Linked DNA regions of Homo sapiens: region 2 is linked to region 1. The links are contacts of gene promoters, found by promoter capture Hi-C in human tissues and cell types (Jung and others, 2019). All regions are on one chromosome and are shown on one strand. The core of a region is centred on a gene start or on the middle of the fragment in contact, and the rest is flanking DNA. Distances in the headings are between cores, read along the strand shown.

Evidence for each region. The method cuts DNA at HindIII sites, captures the fragments that hold promoters and counts their contacts. A contact is called where the count stands out against the background at its distance.
Region 2: a fragment that was not itself captured here is called in contact with the fragment with the promoter of LRRC15 in region 1 in 2 of the 25 tissues and cell types used here (mesenchymal stem cells and thymus).

What each region holds. Positions count from the first base shown.
Region 1 is chr3:194,367,601-194,373,110 of GRCh38, forward strand. It overlaps LRRC15 (leucine rich repeat containing 15), which reads right to left and starts at 2,143. Exons shown (of 2, transcript NM_130830.5): 1 at 2,061-2,143. RefSeq lists an enhancer at 1,602-2,566. The HindIII fragment of the contact is 13,291 bases long and covers 1-5,510 here.
Region 2 is chr3:194,455,603-194,461,112 of GRCh38, forward strand. It overlaps ATP13A3 (ATPase 13A3), which reads right to left. Exons shown (of 34, transcript NM_001367549.1): 4 at 5,056-5,229; 5 at 4,187-4,369; 6 at 3,869-3,939; 7 at 1,492-1,572; 8 at 291-360. Among named protein-coding and RNA genes, the nearest start is that of ATP13A3, 29 kb to the right of the region's middle. The HindIII fragment of the contact is 3,288 bases long and covers 1,450-4,737 here.

The DNA of each region.
Region 1 (5,510 bases), core at 893-3,392:
CGGCCAGTGTGTGGATTTGAAACTGGGACAGCTGCACCTTTACCTGTGTCTCTGCTCAAATGTAGAGGCAGGACCTGGGGCCAAGGTCACAGGCCCCTGATTTGGGAATACTCCACCCCAAACAGAAACCTTCCTTGAACTCCAAAGCAAGACTGGCCACACCCTCACCGTCCACCTTGATCAAGCGGGGACCCGCGTCTCTCATCTCTCATGGCCCTTCAAAGCCAACATGTTGCTTATTGTTTGAAAACAGAAAATCAGTTAAAAAGCGCAATTCCTTTCCAGCCCTTCTGTTGGGGATCCTCCCAGGTCTGGCTTCCTGCAGAGGCCAGAGCAGGACTGTCATTAGCCTGGCAAGGGTGGCAGGAGAAACTGACAAACCGCCCAGCAGAACAGGAGAACTGCCCCAAAAGGGCTCTTATGACAGCAGCCACGGGCTACAAACAGCCCCCTTCTCAGGCGGGCACCTGGGATCCCAAAGTAGAGAGAAATGGATCAGCCCCTGATCAAAGCATCTGGAAGCAGGTTCTAATTTCTGTGTCCAAAAGCCAAGACAGGCCATAAATCTGAAGCAGCAGTGACTCCTTCGTGGTCAGGATTCAGGGCAGCAAATTGCCATGTGTGATCACAGTCTGCTTACTGGCAGGACTGAGTCGGGACAGCTCCTCCCCCACCCCTTATTCTCCACGGCTGGATCTATTCTACCTCGCCTCACCACCCCGCCATTTACTGAGCGAGCTAAGGGAGTGTTCCCTAGCCCTGGGAAGAACCTTCCATGACCTGACTGTCTGTCGAATCTATCCAGAACTTACCCTGGCCCCGAACCCTCTCACATGCCTGCCTCATCACTGCTGAGCCCGCCCAGCTGACTCAAGACCACAGGCAAATTGGGCTGTCTGGCCCTGAATTTACTCCAGATGTTCAGTCTCTGCAGAATGAAGGAAGTGCCAGCCGTTAGAGCACTTCTAAATTAAGGAGCCAGTGGCAGCAACACATCTGAGAGCTGCCCAAGGTAAAGTGACGCATCCCAGATAACCCCAAAGGAGAAGCTGGCACGTGGCAGACAGGCACCTGGCACCTGCGACTGGAGCACACGTGTCATCTCAGAGAGAGTGCAGCTGCACCGAGGTGATGCCCTGGGCCCGGGAGGTGGAATGGCTCTTGCACTTTGGCAGGGGTGGGAGAGTCCTGAAAGCTCTGGTTTTCCACAGTTGGTTTCTTGGCCCCAGGTCCTGCCTCTACGTTTGAGCAGAGACACGGGTCAAGGTGCAGCCGTCACAATTTCAAATCCACATACCACCTCATCACAAATCCATCTCCTGCCCTGACTCCCTGCTCAAAGCCTCCAGGCTCCACAGAGGCCGACGCTTCCAGCAGGAGAGAGGGGAAACTGCCAGCATAGTGTCCCCTAAGCCACACTGTTAGAGCCTGAACAATGCTGAGCCCATGTCCGAATTCCAAATTGGAACTGCAAACCAGGGACCAGCACATCTGCTGAAGTTACACTTGCAGGAGTTATCCATCTATGCAAAGCAGACAGCTCTCTTGCCTGGGAAACCCCCATGAAGGAAGGTCTTGGGCAGAACCAAATGCGGGGCAGACCACTGGGAGCCACCAGGGCAAGTGCCAGGAAAGATGGCACAGGCGCAAATAATCTGAACCTTAAAAAGAGAAGTTCTTCCCCCAGTGGATCTAGATTCCAGAACGGTCAATCCAGTGACAAGGGGGGTGATAATTTAGTCCACTTTCAGCCCAACTTGCTGGTCTCAGACATCTCAGCACCCCAGGTTGACATCATGAGCCGCTCAGGGCAAGGGGCATAAGAGGCTGTTGAGGCATCAGCAGAGGGGCTGGTGGTCCTGGTGTCCAGGCAGTGAGGGAGACAGGCTTGCACCCCTCCAGCACAGGCTGCTTCTGTCCCTGTCCCGAGAGCATCCCCAGGCACATGTCAGCTCTGCCCCTTCTGGGGTCTCCGAGGGGAGCAGGTCCAGCAGAAATGGGAAGGGGCTGGCCGGGCCCTCTAAGCAGAGAGGAGGGATGGGGGTGGCTTGCCTACTTACCAGCAGCTCGGCGCCCGCCCGCCGTGGACAAGAGGGAGCCTGAGAGGAGGACGAGGGACGGCTCAAGGCTGCAGCATGAGTGTGGCTCGCCTAAGCTGTCCCGGTATTTAAACTATCCCGGGCGTGAGTCACTGCAGAGGGCAGTGTTGGCCCTGGGAGGGGGGACTGTGGGCCACAGTGCAGTGCCTGCATGTCCCGGGCTGACACTACAGGGTACACATAGCTGGCATCCCTAAATGTAAGGGGTTTGCTTCAACCGTATTTAAAAACTCAGGACACATTTTCCTCTTTCCTTCTTTCCCCCAGTGTATCTTTTGGATTCCTTCACTGCATTGGCCACCGTGAGAGGGGAGTTTACAACGACCCGGTAAACCCCTCCCTAAGTGACTGTGGACCCCCTGCTGCCCTGCCCTGGCCAAGGAGACAAGGACCCCGAGAAAGGGATGGAGCAGGATTCAGGGGCGTTTCTTTGCTCCTAGAAGTATTGGCAAGTGCTTCTCCCTGTGGTTCTAGAAAACTTATTCATTCTTCTCTTTCTTTCTTTCTTTCTTTCTTATTTTAAACTTTTTATTTGGCTTTAAATTTACAGACAATTAATGTGTTTCATCTGTTGTTAACATTTTGGAAGAAGCATTTACTTTAGATTCCAAGGAAAAATATAATTACGACCACTGTGTCCCCTCTAAAAACAGCATTTCCGATTTCCTTGTGATGCTGGGGTCTTTGCCATTACTGCTGCTCTGAGAGGTGCAGGCACACACATCTCTGGCTTGGGGACGGGCAATCAAGGGGCATATTTGGGCGTGAGGAGCTTCCCTATGCCCCTCACCTCTGCATTACAGCCCACACACTGCTGCCCTCTCTACCCCCGTCCCCAGTGGGGACAAAACTGTTTCTATTTGTGGTATCCCCAAAAAGGCCTGGGGAAGAGGATACAGGAATCATAGTTGGAGGGGCGGGAAGGCTTCCAAACCCCGGCTTCTCCTCCGAGATGGAGCCTCAACAAGGCCTGAGCTGCCCCAGGCTGAAGCCACCCTGCCTTTGCCTGGCTCGGTTTACCCTCTCAGCTAAGTGGGGAGAGTGATATTTACACACAGTGCCTCATGGAGTGCCAAGAGGCTTAATTAATATTTGCGCTGTGTTTTGAGATCTGCGATGAAAGGAAGATATAAAAGTGCGTAGTGTTATTACTGAAATAGTTGCTTGGGTGGCTTGTCATGGTCAAGACCTACAGCCTGAATCACGCCACATTCCTCCTCACTGTGGCACCGTGATTCAGAGCCGGAAACAAAAAGTGTCTTGTCCACTAAATAACAGGAGCCCAGGAGGGGCAGGCACTGCTTGGAGTGGCTCCACACAGCTTGAAGCCCCATCCCTTCCCCCACCAGCCTTGTTCCCACGTGCAGAACACCTTCCCTCTTACGGCCCTGATTCCTCCACGTTCCCAAATCAGGTACTTTAACTTTTCTCTTTTTTTTTTTTTTTTGAGACGGAGTCTCACTCTGTCACCCAGGCTGGAGTGCAATGGCGCGATCTCGGCTCACCGCAGCCTCCGCCTCCTGGGTTCAAGCGATTCTCCTGCCTCAGCCTCCTGAGTAGCTGGGATTACAGGCACGCACCACCAGGCTCAGCTAATTTTTGTATTTTTTGTAGAGATGGGGTTTCACCGTGTTAGCCAGGATGGTCTTGATCTCCTGGTCTCATGATTCTCGTGATCCACCCGCCTCAGCCTCCCAAAGTGCTGGGATTACAGACGTGAGCCACCGCGCCTGGCCACTTTAACTTTCTTTCCATAGAACCTACAAGAATAAGAATATCCCTCTTTTTCCTCTTCCATCCTCCCTAATCCTAGCACCCAAGCGCTCTGTGTCGGGCACTGTGCTGGGAGTGGTGGACAACACAGGGATGAATCGGCTGCATTTAAAGATGGCTATTTGGGAAGCACCTGCTGTGAACCAGAGACCCCTTGGGTACCTCACTGCAGCTCTCCATCATTTCACCTCCACCAGCTTTCTCGGCCTCACCACGTGACATTTGGAGGCAGATAATTCTTCATTGCAGGAGCTGTTCTACGTGTCGCGGGAGGCACCATGGCATCCCTGGCCTCTGCCCTCTAGATGCCAGCAGTACCCCCCGATCCAAAAGTAACAAAATGTCTCTAGACATTGCCAAATGTCCCCAGGAAGGGGGAGTTTACACAAACACATACACACACACACACACACACACATTCATGGTTGAGAACTACTGATCTGCCAAATAGTCCTATGAGTGGCAGTAATTACCCCCATTTCACAGACAAAAAAACTGAGGCCCAGGCCTGTTAACTAATTTCCCTGCAGCCATATGCTAAGTGACAGAGCCAGAGTCCAAGCCTAGCCCGTGGGCTCCATGCCATCTGCACACCACTGGATCCTGTGCTTGGGCACACAACCCCCATGGACGGAAGTTCGGACTGACGCAGAGCGGGGCTGGGAGAAGATGGAAGGAGTGAGGTCACTGACAGATCCTTCCTCGGGGCAAGCTTGAGAATGTGGGAGCATTTCAAGGGATGGACCTGGGGTGTCATGCAGAGGGTGACCTTAAAAGATGAGCAGGCTCAGCCGGGCACGGTGGCTCACGCCTGTAATCCCAGCACTTTGGGAGGCCGAGGCGGGCAGATCACAAGGTCAGGAGATCGAGATCATCCTGGCTAACACGGTGAAACCCTGTCTCTACTAAAAATACAAAAAATTCGCCGGGCGTGGTGGCGGGCGCCTGTAGTCCCAGCTACTTGGGAGGCTGGGGCAGGAGAATCACTTGAACCCAGGAGGCGGAGGTTGCAGTGAGCCCAGATCCCGCCACTGTACTCCAGCCTCGGTGACAAAGCAAGACCCTGGAAGGTGAGGGGAGAGGGTAAAGGAAAGCCATCCAGTCAGAGTGAGCAGGAGAGAGAATGTGGCTAGAGCCCAGGCTGTGTGGCAGGGCCTCACTGAGGACTGGGATGATCCCGAAGAGTGGAGTCCTCTGGAGGCAGTAGGGAGCCACCAGGAGTTTTGGAGGAGGGACAGGCCCAGGTGGAGCCATGCTGTAGGAAGTGTGCTATGGGGGTGGGGGGGTTCCAGCCTTCACAGAGAACTCTCTCTGGCCTTCATGACAGCGCATGGGTTTCCACACCGTAACCAGGCCGTGCAGGAAGGAGCAGTTCCCCAGGTTGGAGGTGCCGTGGACATCGGGCTGCAGGACTCCGGGTTTCCACACATGGAGGCCCTCTCTTCCCCAGAGAAGCACCTTCTCCTACGGAGGAAGCAAGGCAGCCCCCAGGCAGCCCCCAGAACAGCCGCTCCGTTCCACTAATGAAGGGACGGGACATCTATTATTATTGGAAGGGAAAGCCTGATTTACCACCCGCAGGCCCTGTAACCTCAGGGCTCACTTTCCAGCCCCCCTGGGAGAACCGGAAGAGCTGGG
Region 2 (5,510 bases), core at 1,844-4,343, 89 kb after region 1:
CTAATACAACTAATTCTTGAGCTTTAGCCAAAAACCAGAATGAAGATTGGTGAGCCTAACTCTGCTAGACATTCAACAGGTAATAAAAGCAAAACTAGACAAAATTTTAAGAATACATGCCCCAGATTCTTTCTCTACCAGAGTAAATGTCTTCCGTCTTTACCTTCCAAGTAAAAATATGAAAAAGAGGTTAGGAAAAAGAAAACCAAGAATATTTTAATCACAACTCATTCCAAATTGACACATCCATTGATCATGACTGTTAAGTTATATACAATCAATAGTCTTACCTCTTTAATTAGAAGCTTAAAAACAGAAGGCACTTTTACAGCAATTTCATTTACTCCATAAAGCAGTTTTCTATAACAGGAAAATACATTCATAGTATTACATTATATCATAATAGTATAATTTACGAAAGGCATTGTATTAGGTAAGGCTTAAACCACAGACTGTTCTTATTCATGTCTCCAAACACCTGTCTTCTATAATTCAAACTCTCTACCTACAGAATTTAAAACAAAGAAGTCAATAGTAGATACCTATACTGGTAGCACTTAACTTCATTTTGTCTCACATCTTTATGTGTGACAAGTATCTTTCCCACTAGTCTATAATACCATGTGAGCAAAAGGTTCTCTTTTGCATCCTTGAACACACTAGATCTTAACAATTTTGAATTACAATTATTTTTTGCAAGAAGCCAAATAAATTTGAGGGATCTTATTTTTTTTTTAATATTGCACTAACAGTGTTTAGTTCAAAACATTGTACATTCGACTTTAAAAGAAAATGCTTTTAAAGTTTAAATGTTTCCACTTAATTCCTTATGTTACAATAGTATTTTCTATATGATAGAGTAATTCTAGACTTTTATGAAATGTAAGTCTAAATGAGTGAATTTTATGTTCTACCCCTTTGAAAGAACATGTTACAGAACTATAAGAAAATTTCTTATTGAATTTCAAAGTGGCATTTATCTTTAACATACGCAATACACTGGTGTATTTTTATGATTTAACAAGGAATAACACAATGAAGGAGATTATGTCTCCCAATTTACAATCTTTCATTACGGTGAATTTGAACTCATGCTTGTATTTCAGAAAATCTAAGGTGCTATCAATTGTAAGGCATACCATTATTATATGATCAAGAAAGATAAAAATGCTATCAAGAACGACACTTCACCAACTCTATGACACATCCCAATCTCAGAGATGTTAAAAGGTGGAAAAACGTGCACCTGGGAACTGATGAAATATGGTATAATTTCAGGGATACCAACTTCAAAATATCAGCTTGCACATTTTTATAATTCTTAAACTAAGACAGTCTTACCCAAATAAAACATCAATAAATTCTCAACTACTATGTCTGTAATATTTAAGTATCTGTTAATATGTACAACTATATGGTAAAGGGTTGATTATGTATACTACTGCTTTTAGGAATTTTGAGAAGATCTAACTTTAGTTGGATAAAAATTACCTGTAGGCATGCATCCCCTTTGTCAGTCCTGCACTATGCTTTTCATAAATTGACGTACAAGAAACACCTTCATCCAGTCCCCTAAATAAATCCAAAGTTTTTACTTTAAACAAAGTTTAAAATATCCAAATTTCTTAACGCCTCATTTTTCTATATGCCTGATTTTATAAAGGTGTGACTTCCTTACAAATCCTTAGAAACCCTTAACAAAAATTGAGATAACAAATGAGAATTTTTAAATCTCAAATTCTTAAGATAAACAATGACAAATCTAAGTCTCAAACCCAACTTCGAAGCTATTCAATATGTTTATTGCAGGATAGATGAGATGGCTCTAAATACTCAAATTTATATAATAATATCATTATCCTTAAGACTGTGCCAAAGCTGTAATAGCTAAAATTAAACTTTAAAATTTTAAGATAAAGTATAACTTGAGAATTCTAAACCAAAGATGAAAACATTTTACTTTTTAGCTACATAGTTTCTCCTTTTCAATTTTAGAGTCAAATTAAGAATTTCTATTCATTTTCTTCCATCTCCATAAAAGCATCAAGCCAAACCCTTCCCTAAATGCATACCTGGTTTGAAGTGCAGAATTTATGAGTCACAGACAATGCCTAAAATCTGTAATAATTCTAAGTGGGCTTCAACTAACACATCTACTTTTTCCCAAAATATCTTAATTATGCTTTTTTTTTTTTTTTTTTTGAGATGGAGTTTTGCTCTGTCGCCAGGCTGGAGTGCAGTGGCACAATCTCGGCTCACTGCAACCTCCGCCTCCTGGGTTCAAGCCATTCTCCTGCCTCAGCCTCCTGAGTAGTTAGGAGTACAGGCACACACCACCATGCCTAGCTAATTTTTGTAATTTTAGTAGAGAAGGGGTTTCACCACGTTGGCCAGAATGGTCTCAAGCTCTTGACCTCAGGTGATCCGCCCACCTTGGCCTCCCAAAGTGCTGGGATTACAGGCATGAGCCACCACCCCCCGCCTTAATTATGCTTATTTTAACTGAGATACCAGCTATAACTCTAAAGCAAAGAAAGTCTTACATATACTTAATTCCAATCCTTTTCCACACTTTCCACATAGGAAAGCTAAGCTTCATAATTCACTTCAATCAATGGAGTAAGTTTAAATTTTTAAGTTTCTATGGCTGGCAAAAGACACACAGTAAATATGTTTGACATTTCTTCCCACTGAATTTGATGACTTCTCCAGAAGGCAGCAGGGGCCAGTGCCAAGTCAAAAAAAAAAAAAAATTTTTTTTTTAAACAAAATGACAGCCCATTGGCAATTTTCTTTGTTTTTATGAGACGCAGTTTCGCTCTTTGGCCCAGGCTGGAACGGAGTGGCACAGTATCAGCTCACTGCAACCTCCGGCCCCCTGGGTTTGAGCGATTCTCCTGCCTCAACCTCCTGAGTATTTGGGATTATAGCCATCCATCACCAGGCTAATTTTTTTTGTATTTTTAGTAGGGACGGGGTTTCACCGTGTTGGCCAGGCTGGTCTTGAACTCCTCACCTCAGGTGATCCGCCCGCCTTGGCCTCTTAAAATGCTAGAATTACAGGCATGAGACACCATGCCCGGCCTGATTTTCTTTAAGGCAATAGTTCTTAATCAGGAATGGTTTTTAAAACTAGGCATGTAAAAATGCCCATGCCCATTCCAGAATGTTCCAATTCATTAGTGTATCTGAGTAAAAAATCCAGGTATGAATATTTTATTTTTTACTTCCAATAGAAACCTACAGGTATGAATATTTTAAATGTTCATAACATGATTTTCTTTTTACCGCTAAAATTAAGAATTCCTTTGGCACTCTAAAGCAACGATATTAATGAGTATTTATAATAATCATTTTAAGAGCAATAAAAACAGAATCTTAATGTGTACTTATATAACTTAAATCCTCGATTAAAAATAAAGGAATTACTACAGCTTGCCCCATTCTTTATCTACATAGTAAAATTAAATTTCTCTTTGCCTATTACTCTACTCCTCAAGTACCACAGGCTTTAAGTGTCAGTAAACCAACAGGTAATGATTCAGATACTCTAAGTTGAGACACAGGCTATGAGGTATACTCAAAATCACTTTGAGGTGAAACAGGTAAGAACTCAGACTCAGTAGACTTTGGCATCATACTGACTCTAAGTTTCATGTAAACTCTGCCATGGTGCAAGCTGCGGTGGGACTTATTTTAAAATGGCTAATGAGCCTTCAAACAGCAACAGGGAGTTGTTAATTAATACGTGAATAGAAATTATAAAATAAAACCTCAGCAATTTTATGAATACTAGAATGGACTCTTTTCTATCTAGAACGTTTTCAGGATATTCAAAATACAATCCAAACAAAAGGAAGATACTTACTTTAAGAAATCAAAATTGTGAATGGTATCATTCCAGAAATATTTTACACTATGGTGGGTGAAATAACGAATCTGTGGAACACAAATAAACGTTACACCAAAAAGCATATAATCACTTGTGATATGTAATCTGTTACTTCTATTAACAGCTATATATAGGATTATATATAGCATTATATATAGTAATATGTAATATTTTATATGCAGGTAAATTTATCTCAAGCATTAACTGCAAACACAAAATTATAGAATATACATGATAGCATAAAATGTAACAATTCTGATTTTTAAAGAAACTTTGACATTAAGATCACAATACCTGTTGTGATTCAGTCTGTGAATATTTACTGATCCTGTGCCTATTTTCTTCAGTGGGATTCTCAATTAAACAAACTGCATGGCCATTTGAAAGCTTATTAGACATAGATTTTGGACTTGAAACTGGGTAAGTTTCCAAAGAAAGAACGCGAATTTTTGCACAAAACCACATTTTGAATTCATCCTTAAAGAGAGAAAGGGATAACGGTAAGGAGTCAATTTTATAGAAAACTGCCTATATTTTCATTTATTTTCCATTCTTTACAAGACATTATTTCCTCATCTCTAATTGAGGAAACATCACGCCTACTCACTAAATATTAAACCATTTCATGAGGATGCTTAAATTCAAACATAAGGTGCTTTCCATTGCTCATGGTTTTTATGACATATTTTACCGATAAGCACATCAATACTTCATAAAATATCATGAGTAATTCCTTAATTAGTCTCTATATTTGGACTAAATATTAAAACCTCTTATAAAATGCTTCCAATTAGGGTTTTTAAAAAAGAAAAAAGGCTGAAATGCATCAGCATCACACAGCAGACAGGCAGCTGGCCTAGTGACCGAGATCTGGACTACAGTCCTAATGGACCAGCACCGTAACAGACAAGTAGCTAATCTCTCAGGGCAACAAGAGAGATGAAAGGAAGGGGGTGAATCTGATCATCTTTAAGATTCCTTTAAACTCTAATCATTATAATAATAGTCAATTCAAACACAAATCCTCTAGAAATACTAGAATTAGCATTCCTCATTTTATCCAGGCAGCGATGTTCCCTTCATCTATTATTTCGAATAAAGTATACACAAAGACATTGTTTTACTCCTTAAATAATCAGCTACAAGTAAACACATAAACTTACAGTAGTCCTCAGCAGCACTACTTCACAGTCTTTAATTGCAGCTCTGACACAGGTCGCTTTCACCCGCCACTCAGGCATCCAATAGAGGAGGAGGAGGAGAAACCCACCAGAGCAAATCACTCCTAAAGAAACTATGGCAAGCTTCCAGCGACTCAAATTGTAACCATAAATCTCCTGCATGGACACAGCGATCACATGATTAATTATCAAATGATAAAATGATATGGCAGAGAAACACATTCCAAAGTTCTTTGTTTTCCAGATAGGTATTTATTGTCTTGTCACATAAACTGTAAATATTTTCCAATCCATAATTTACCTTTAAATTTTGTTTCTGACCAGTTTACTGTCAGTTATATTTTAAGTAAATTTGTTGGTATTTACACTTTGATTTTATATTTAATTTATGCCTAATACGTTCTTTCCCACTGATATAGTAAATTCATATTTAGTAC